Regions from separate parts of the Homo sapiens genome. Here regions 2 and 3 are each linked to region 1. Evidence: promoter capture Hi-C in 16 types of primary human blood cells and fetal thymus (Javierre and others, 2016). All regions are on one chromosome and are shown on one strand. Each heading gives the region's core, a stretch centred on a gene start or on the middle of the fragment in contact. The rest is flanking DNA. Distances are from core to core; before and after follow the strand shown.

The links. The method cuts DNA at HindIII sites, captures the fragments that hold promoters and counts their contacts. A CHiCAGO score of 5 or more calls a contact.
Region 2: a fragment that was not itself captured here is called in contact with the fragment with the promoter of LINC01220 in region 1 in 1 of 17 cell types (activated CD4 T cells); the score reaches 9.2 in activated CD4 T cells.
Region 3: a fragment that was not itself captured here is called in contact with the fragment with the promoter of LINC01220 in region 1 in 2 of 17 cell types (activated CD4 T cells and total B cells); the score reaches 6.4 in activated CD4 T cells.

Annotation. Positions count from the first base shown.
Region 1 is chr14:75,293,029-75,295,863 of GRCh38, reverse strand. It overlaps LINC01220 (long intergenic non-protein coding RNA 1220), which reads right to left and starts at 1,460. Exons shown (of 3, transcript NR_038421.1): 1 at 1,323-1,460; 2 at 1,127-1,187. RefSeq lists a silencer at 1,223-1,682 and an enhancer at 1,753-1,892. The HindIII fragment of the contact is 10,176 bases long and covers 1,151-2,835 here.
Region 2 is chr14:75,555,946-75,558,798 of GRCh38, reverse strand. It overlaps LOC107984653 (a long non-coding RNA gene), which reads right to left and starts at 628. Exons shown (of 2, transcript XR_001750830.1): 1 at 593-628. The HindIII fragment of the contact is 4,794 bases long and covers 1-2,853 here.
Region 3 is chr14:74,839,876-74,842,874 of GRCh38, reverse strand. LOC105370569 (a long non-coding RNA gene) reads right to left here. Exons shown (of 2, transcript XR_944033.3): 1 at 2,730-2,999; 2 at 856-2,274. Among named protein-coding and RNA genes, the nearest start is that of PROX2, 35 kb to the left of the region's middle. RefSeq lists an enhancer at 814-973. The HindIII fragment of the contact is 1,021 bases long and covers 740-1,760 here.

The DNA.
Region 1 (2,835 bases), core at 211-2,710:
CAGAACAGCCGACTCCTGTTCCCTGGACAGGGGTGACCATTCCAGCTGCTCTAAGGAGGAATGCTTGAGGCTTTAGGAAGTACACAATTCTTGGCCATCCCCCCCAGGCCCTGGTGTCATGGTGTGGGCTGCGTGTGGCAGCAGACGTGACAATGGCGTTCTTTAAGAGCCCTGAAGTCAATATTTAGCCTAAATGTACAACCCACCAGCTGAGCCAGGCAACAGGGTTCTGAAGCACAGGAAATTAGAAGCACCTAGGCGATGTGGAACACTATTTGAAGCTAGATATCCTGACTTTTATCAGTTTCTAACTAGCTGTGCAAGTTTGGATGGTCGAACCAACTTCTCTGAGCTTTAATTTCCCTGTTGGCGAAATAGGTTAAATTAGATTAAAAGTCTCCGATGTGACTTCCAGCTCTGAAACTCTGGAAAACACACACTCCTTCAGCCAGAGGAACTGGGGAATCTAGGGGGCAGGGATGGGGGTGGGAGGATGGTGACAGGCGTCTTGAAGGATTAACCCCACGCTTCTCCTCGCAATTGCAATCGGCTCCCCAGCAGCGGCCACTGCGGCACTGCCTGCCCCACCCCCGCCCTCTGGGCCCGGCGGTACACACCCACGGCTCCCTCAGAGACTTCTGGAATCTCGCTGGATTTCTCCCAGGAATGCTTATTGCCCTTTAGATCTGCAAATCGCTTTACATCAGCAACCCTGCCGCGCGATTATTAATCATCTCAATATTCTCCCCCATCCCCTACCCTCCCCCTCGCCCGGCCTGGAAGAGGAATTGCAGGGGTCCGGATTTATGAAGGTGATTCGTATTATTCATTCAATAATCAGTTAACTAAAGTTCATTAAGCGCCTAATAGGAGCAAGGTGCAGAGACACACAAATCCAATCACCACAGGGGGCAGAACTGTAGGGGGTCGATGCTCAAAGAACTTCACTGATATTCCAGTTATGTCCTGGGGAGGGGGTGGTTAGAGGGTGATGGAAAAGCTCCCCTCACAAGCCTGATGACAGTGCTGCAACCATTATGGACCACCCCCACGGTTCGTTTTATCATGCCAGGAAAAGGAAAATGGCCTTCCCAAGGTCACTTATCCCCCGAGGGGCAACACTGACCCCAGAACCGCCGTCTTCAAAGCTTTCCACTGTGCCATGAAGGAAAATTTTGAGTTGAAGCCTATAAAATACAGCGTTGGGCGAGAGATGGCATGATTTCCGGGCACAGAGTGAGAAAATCGTGATCCCAGATCACCCACCCACAACAAACGAGACCGCCCCAAATCTTGACTGCAGCTACAACCAGCAGACGCACAGGAATGCTGGAAACAGCTCATTCATCCATCGCGGCGCCCTCTCTCTGGGCCCCCAGCGCCCCTGCCCTTGCCTCCGCCTGGGTGGGTCCCGGGACAGGAGGCGGGGGTCTCGTGGCTCGGAGCCTTCGCCCAGCATTCCAGGGGCGGGGCAGGGACCGGGGGCGGGGCGCGGCGGGAGTCCCGCCCACAGCCTACCCCGGGCCGGCGGCGCAGTGGCTGAGCCAAATATGGGCAGAGCGGAAGCGGCGGGCCGGCGTCACGGCGCCGGGTGGGGGCCGCGCTGCGGGGCGGTGACGGGAGTCGCTGACGGCGCCTACGTGTCACCGTGGAAACCAAACAGTAAACAGAGGACTCGCGAGCTCCTGGCACCGTCTGGCCCTGCGACCTGCCCTGGAGCAAAGGGCCGGAAGCTGGGAAGGGCCAGGAGAAACCTTGGCCTGGCCGACGAGGACAGGGGCGCGGCAAGGGTGTAGAGAGGGCGGTGGAGGGGACGCTGAGAGAGCACTCCCAAACGTCCCTCCCTGAGGTCCCTGGAAGCCGGCTCTCCCTCTGCCCACGGGCCAGCAGGGGCTGGTCAGGAGCGGAAGGAGGCCCTCCTGTCCCTTCTTTTTCTTTTCCTTTGTTTTTTTTTTTTTTTTTTTTTTTTTTTTTGAGATGGAGTCACGCTCTATCGCCCAGGCTGGAGTGCACTGGCGCGATCTCTGCTCACTGCAACCTCTGCCTCCCGGTTCAAGCGATTCTCCCGCCCCAGGCTCCCAAGTAGCTGGAACTACAGGCGCGCGCCACCGTACCCGGCTAATTTTTTACATTTTTAGTAGAGACAGGATTTCACCACGTTGGCCAGGTTGGTCTCCAACTCCTGACCTCAGGTGATCCGCCCGCCTCGGCCTCCCAAAGTGCTGGGATTACCGCGCCCGGCCTCTCCTGTCCCTTCTGAGGGCCTCCGTGCCTGCAAGGTTGTTGCGGATACTGATTTTGCTTTGTTTTTCCTTTCTAATGGCTAAGAGTTCAGGCATTGAAGCCACACTGCCTGGACTCTAATTCCAGCGCTGCCACTCCAGTTGGATGATCTTGAGCAGACCTCTGCGCCCCAGACTATATTATTATCTACAAAAATAAGGATAATAGCAGGACCTACCTTTAAGAGTAGATGAGGACTTTTAAAATGAGTGTGTGTGTGTGTGTGTGTGTGTGTGTGTGTGTGTGTGTTTGGAACAGTGTCAAGCATGTTGTGAGCCCCAAGTTAGTGTTAAGTGTTTATTTTTATTCCCAGGCAGCACAAGAGAAACTTACGTAGTATTAGTAGTGCATCTCCTAAATCTACTACTGACGTAATGTTTTTTTTCTCGAGTCTTCTTTAGATTTAAAATAAAAGGGGGCCGGGCGCTGTGGCCCACGCCTGTAATCCCAGCACTTTGGGAGGCCAAGGCAGGAGGATCACTTGAACCTAGGAGTTCTAGACCAGCCTGGGCAACATAAGGAGACCCCGACTCTACAAAAATAAAAAAAAAT
Region 2 (2,853 bases), core at 20-2,519, 260 kb before region 1:
TGATTAATTAATTCATTTATCAAACCTATAAATATCACATATCTGCTCTGCTGGGCACTAGGAATATAGCAGTAAACAAGACACAGATAGTCTCTGCCCTCACTCATGGGTTAGTGAATGGCCTATCTGGACAGCCATTTAACTGTCCACCATGAGTCACCACTGGGGGTTTTGGGCACGATGTAAGTAGATATCTGGTCTCTGTCATCTTCTCTCAATGATTGCTGTGGTTTAAATGTCTCCTCCAAAACTCGTGTTGAAATTTAATTGCCATTGTAACAGAGTTGAGAAGCGGGGCCTTTAAGAAGTGATTCGGTCATGAGGACAGAGCCCTCATGGATTAATGGGTCCCTCGATTAATGTCATTGTCACAGAAGCGGGTTTATCTTTGGAGTGGGTTCCCAATAAAAAAGACGAGTTTGGCTCACTTCCCTTTCTGTCTCATGTGCTTGCTTCCACCTTCCACCCTTCTGCCATGGGATAACACTTGCCAGATGCTGGCGCCATGCTCTTGGATTTCCCAGCCTCCAGAACTATGAGAAATAATTTTTTTTCCCTACAAATTACCCAAGCTGGGCATGGTGATTCACACCTGTAATCCCAGCAACTCAGGAGGCTGAGGCAGGAGGATCACTTGAGGTTAGGAGTTCAACACTAGCCTGGGCAATGTAGTGAAACTTCATCTCTAAAAAAAAAAAAAAAAATTTAATTAGCTGGGTGTGGTGGCATGTGTAGTCCCAGTTACTTGGAAGGCTGAGGAAGGAGGATCCCTTGAGCCCAGGAGTTCGAGGCTGCAGTGAGTTATAATCATGCCACTGCACTCCAGGCTGGGTGACAAAGTGAAACTCTCTCTCTCTGCTCCCTGAATTTCAGCACAGTGCCTCTCAGCCCTCCCAGCTGTGGCTCAAGCAGCCTGGGTGCTCCAGAAAGAATAGGTGGTAAACCTTGATGGCAAACATTTGGTGTTAAGTCTGCAAGGATGCAAAATGCAAGGGCTATAGAAGCATGGCTTCCTCTGCTTAGATTTCAAAGGATGTCATGGATCACCTGGAAGCTCAAGTAGAAATCTGCTTCAGGGGAACGGTCACCTCAGAGAGTCCCCACTAGGGCAATCCCAAGTGAAAATGTGGGGTTGGAGCCACTTCGGTTTGAATGTGCCCTCCAAAACTCATACTGAAATTTAATTGCCATTGAAACAGTGTTGAGAGGCAGGACCTTTAAGAGGTGATTAGCTCATGAGGGCTCCACTCTCATGAATAGATTAACGCCATTATCACAGGAATGAGTTGGTTGTTGCAGGAGTGGGTTCCTGATAAAAAGGTGGAGTTTGGTCTGCTCCCCTCTCTGTCTCATGTGCTCACTTCTGCCTTCCACCCTTCTGCCATGGGATGACCCTGGCCAGATACTGGTGCCATGCTCTTGGACTGGCCAGCCTCCAGAGTTGTGAGAAATAAATTTCATTTCTTTGTAAATTACTGAGTCTGTGGTATTCAATTACAGCAGTACGTAGGTTGTGTTCGTGTTTGTAGGGTGTAGAGGCATGAACCACCAGCAAGGCAGGCCAACCAGCTTCCATTACCATGGAAGCAGGATTTGGAGTAATAGAAAATAGGCGATGAGGGTGGACTGGGGCTAATCTATTTCTACAGGGCCTTGTGCAGGATTCCAACTTGCTTTTACTTTGATCCTGGTCTTTCCCTCTGTCTAATAGGTGACAGCTAGACACAGACTAAAAGCTAGATAACACTGTGACTGAGGAGACACAGTTCCCTGCCCTCGCCTCTTCCAGCCCCACCTGGGACTCTATCCCTAATCTCTACCATCTTCACAAGAATACATGCCTTCCCTTGATTCCTGCTCTTAAAATATCTGATTGATTCTTACTTTTTATATGTTAACTGAATATTTATTTTGTCATTTGTATTCCATCGTCAGAATAATAATTGGCTTGGATTTTACATTCCTAGAAGGCAGGCACTGTGTTCCATCCATCCATCCATTTATTCATTCAGCCAATGAATATTTATTGAATTTCTACTCTGTGGTAGGCTCTTTGCTACTGTGCAAGGAGCTGAGAATACAATGGTGAGCAAAACATTGGCAATCCCTGACATTATAGAATGGATGGTCCAGTCACAGAGACAAATGTTAACCAAATAACCACATAGATAAATGTAAATTTTCAGTCTGTGTTAATGGGTATAAAGGAAGGGCATGAGGTGCTATGAAACTATTTGAAATTGCAGTTCTGATCTAGCCTGGGAATCAAGCAAAATTTCCCCAAGCTGGTATTTGACAAAAGGTAGGAATGAATGAGCTAGAAGGGTAAGAGCATTTCAGTTAGGGCTGAGCAGAATGAGCAAGGCTCTTGGGCTGGAGGGAGCACGCAGAGATTTGGGGAAGGGACAGATGCCAGTGCAGAGGAAAAGAGGGTGATATGAAGTGAGCTGGGGGACAGAGGGTGCAAGGTCTCCAGCGCCCCCACTAAGAATTGAGTCTTCATCATATAATCACCCCGAGTAACTCATAAACCCCAATCACACTGTGCACCAGTAGTCAATGGATAACATTTTATGTGAATAATGCTGACTTCACTTAGAGAAGATGTGCTAATGGTGGTTGGGGTGGAGAGGATTGACGTGGTGCTAATGTGACTCGCAATCTAATTTCACAGCTCCCATGGCCCAGATATGAAGAGCTGATCCCTAGGAATGGGTACCTATGTGTATGGCTGCAAGTTGAAAGATGATTGGCAAAGTTTAGTATCAGTATCTTCACATGCCACAAGATAGAGAAAGAAGATAAGATGCTTTTGGCTGGGTGCAGTGACTCACACCTGCAATCCCAGCACTT
Region 3 (2,999 bases), core at 1-2,500, 450 kb after region 1:
AAATTTTTATATTTTTAGTAGAGATGGGGTTTCACCATGTTGTCCAGGCTGGTCTCAAACTCCTGACCTTGCATGATCCACCTGCCTCGGCCTCTCAAAATGCTGGGATTACAGGCATGAGCCACCGTGCCTGGCTTTTTTTTTTTTTTTTTTTTTTTGAGATGAGGTCTCACACCCTGTTGCCCAGGGTGGACAGCAGTATCAGCTCACTGCAGCCGACATTTTTGTTGCCCAGGCTGGTCTCTAATTCCTGGGCTCAAGTGATCTGCCTGCCTCAGCTTCCCAAAGTGCTAGGATTACAAGTGTGAACCACTGTGCCCAGCCAATAATGCTAATATCTAAAGGATGAGAAAAGCAAGGCAGAAACAATAGAAACCCCAGGGAATAAGTCACACAGTGTGGCTGCAGTGTAGTGCACATGTAGTAAGGACAGCTCAAGAGGAATCTGGAGAAGTAGCTGGGATCATGTTACTGATAGACTTTAACGCCAAGTTGATGAATTTGTCCTTAAAAAGATTAGGAATGGAGCGCTACCGAGTGAAGCAGGTAAGATGCTCATCACTGGGTGAAAGCAAATGGACTAGTTACATAAGAAATTACAAATTAAAGAAAACAAAATTATTAATAGTTCTGTAAGCTATTTGCATAACAATACACAAATGATTTTCTCTACTTTGTGGAGAAAACTCCACTGCTCTTGTACAATCACTGAATCCAATACTCTGTTAATTTTCAAGCTTCTGTTATTCATGAGAATTACCCAACCAAGTAGTAAGTGTTTAAGAGGGATCCTAGGTGTATAGCTACCTTATACATGAGAGTTTAAGGAAGTTGGTTTCAGAAGTAATCACATTGTTCCTGATAGTCATATCAGAATGTATTTCCAGGTCCACAGAGTTTAGTAAATACACACATGTCCACTTGCACACGACACACAAAATAAAGGAGAATTCACCATCCTAGAATTTATGAAGGTCTTCATAAAGGAGGTATTGTAGTTAAGAAAAAAGAAAGTGACAGGTTATGGACCAGGAAACCCAAATTCTAGTCTTGTTTTGCCACTGAGTAACAGTGAGACTTTGAGCAAGTCACTTCCCTTCTTTCGGTCTCAGAAACCTCATCTGTAAAACAAGAAGGATCTCACCAGAACCAACTCTAAGGTCTAACCACTTCTCTAAATATCAAAGGTTTCAAGCCGGCAGTCCACAAGTCAGATGTGGCAGGCAGGCTGTGAGGGCCAAAGCACTCACAAACAAAAAGAACCTGATGCTGAAATACTGGAAGATCTCACATAAAAATCCAGATTTTTCACTTTTTCTTGAAAACCCAGGAAATCTGGCAATATGAGACCTATATCCCCACATGGCCACAATCTGCTATGGCTGAGCAGGTGCTGCCCCCGATTGACCTGACCTATCTAGTTGTCTAGTTTACCAGTCTCCACCCTCTGCCTTGCTCATCTGTTACCTGCCTGAGTCTGTGACCCTTGCCATACACATAGGAAACATTCCCTGTATTTACTCACTCTACAGATATATGAGCCATGCACTGAGCCAGATGCTGTAAAAGAAATAAGCATCAGACATATCTACTTGAGAAATACAAACTCACTGTCAGAAATAACAGATCTGAGAGTGGAATTTCAAGTTATGGCAGAAGATATTATTTCAATTTTTCAAATATGGTTAAGAGATGGATCTGTAGCCTAGATCAGTATTTTCAGGAAAAGGAGTACGAATATTTGGTAAAAAGTTCAAGCTTCTTAAGTAGAAGACACAAAGTCAAGCCTTTCCCTATACAGTAAACCATTAAGTCCACAGGCTCTTTGTAGGATCACAAATGCAAGGCACTGCTGGCAGGCAGAGGGCTGTACATGAATGCAGAAGCTCAGCCCCAGTCATAAAGATGCTCCTTGACTATTTCAAATGTGAAAGCAATGGACCTGAAAACTGAGAATGGATCAGTCACTGAGGTGCACGTGCATATAAATATCCAGGTTCTGAGAACAGTGACCTAAGGTATTAACTCTCAGTCACGTGTGGACCAGGGGATCATCAGAGTCTCTGACCATTCTGGTTCTCTAAGACACATCATGGTTCTTTGCTTTGTCAGTCTCCTATCATGCAGAATTTTCCAGGAAACAAGATGTGCCTTCGTCATCTCATTACTGTCATACTGTCTTGAGAGTTCACCGCTGTGCTGTGCTGGTCCTTAAGTGCTTGTCATCCTTTGAGTATGTCTATGAAATGGTGCCATCGGTATTTTCCTTCATTGCTAGAAATCAGGCAAGTACAGGAAGCTGCAGAATGACTGAGTATATGTGAAATTCATAATTTATAACAGTAAACGAGAGCATGAATACCCATTAATAGAGACTCTGTAAGTTAAAATGATAGTAAAGACATAAAACATTCTGCAGCTGCAAAAGAGAATGAGTTGGAAAGCTACTCAGCAATAAAAAGGAATAAGCTATTGACACACATAACAACTTAAATGAATCTCAAGAAAATTACGCTGAGTGAAAAAAGCCAAAATGCCAATCCCAAAAGGTTACATACTGTATGACTTCATATTTATAACATTCTTTAAATGACAAGATTATAAAAATGGAGACCAGATTAGTGGCTGCCAAGGGTTAGAGATGGTGGGGTTGGGGGACTAGGAGAAAGGTGGAGGGTGGTTACACCAACCTACATATATGAAAGAATTGTATACAAATATACCCATACCATGTATTCCATGCCACGAAAAGAACAGAGATGCAGCTGAAACAATTTCTGAAATTTTTCAGTAAACCTCTTTATATTATGAAGGTACCTTTGGAAAACCAAAGAAGGAGGTGGGGGGGAGAGAAAATGTGAATATTTTATATATGATCTGAATGACCTCTAAAACATACTGGTAAAGGAAAAATAAGGTAGTGTGTGTACAAAAACCAGGTAAAAACATTAATACTTAATGCTTATCCACACAATTTTTCTCAACACTGGTTGCCTCTA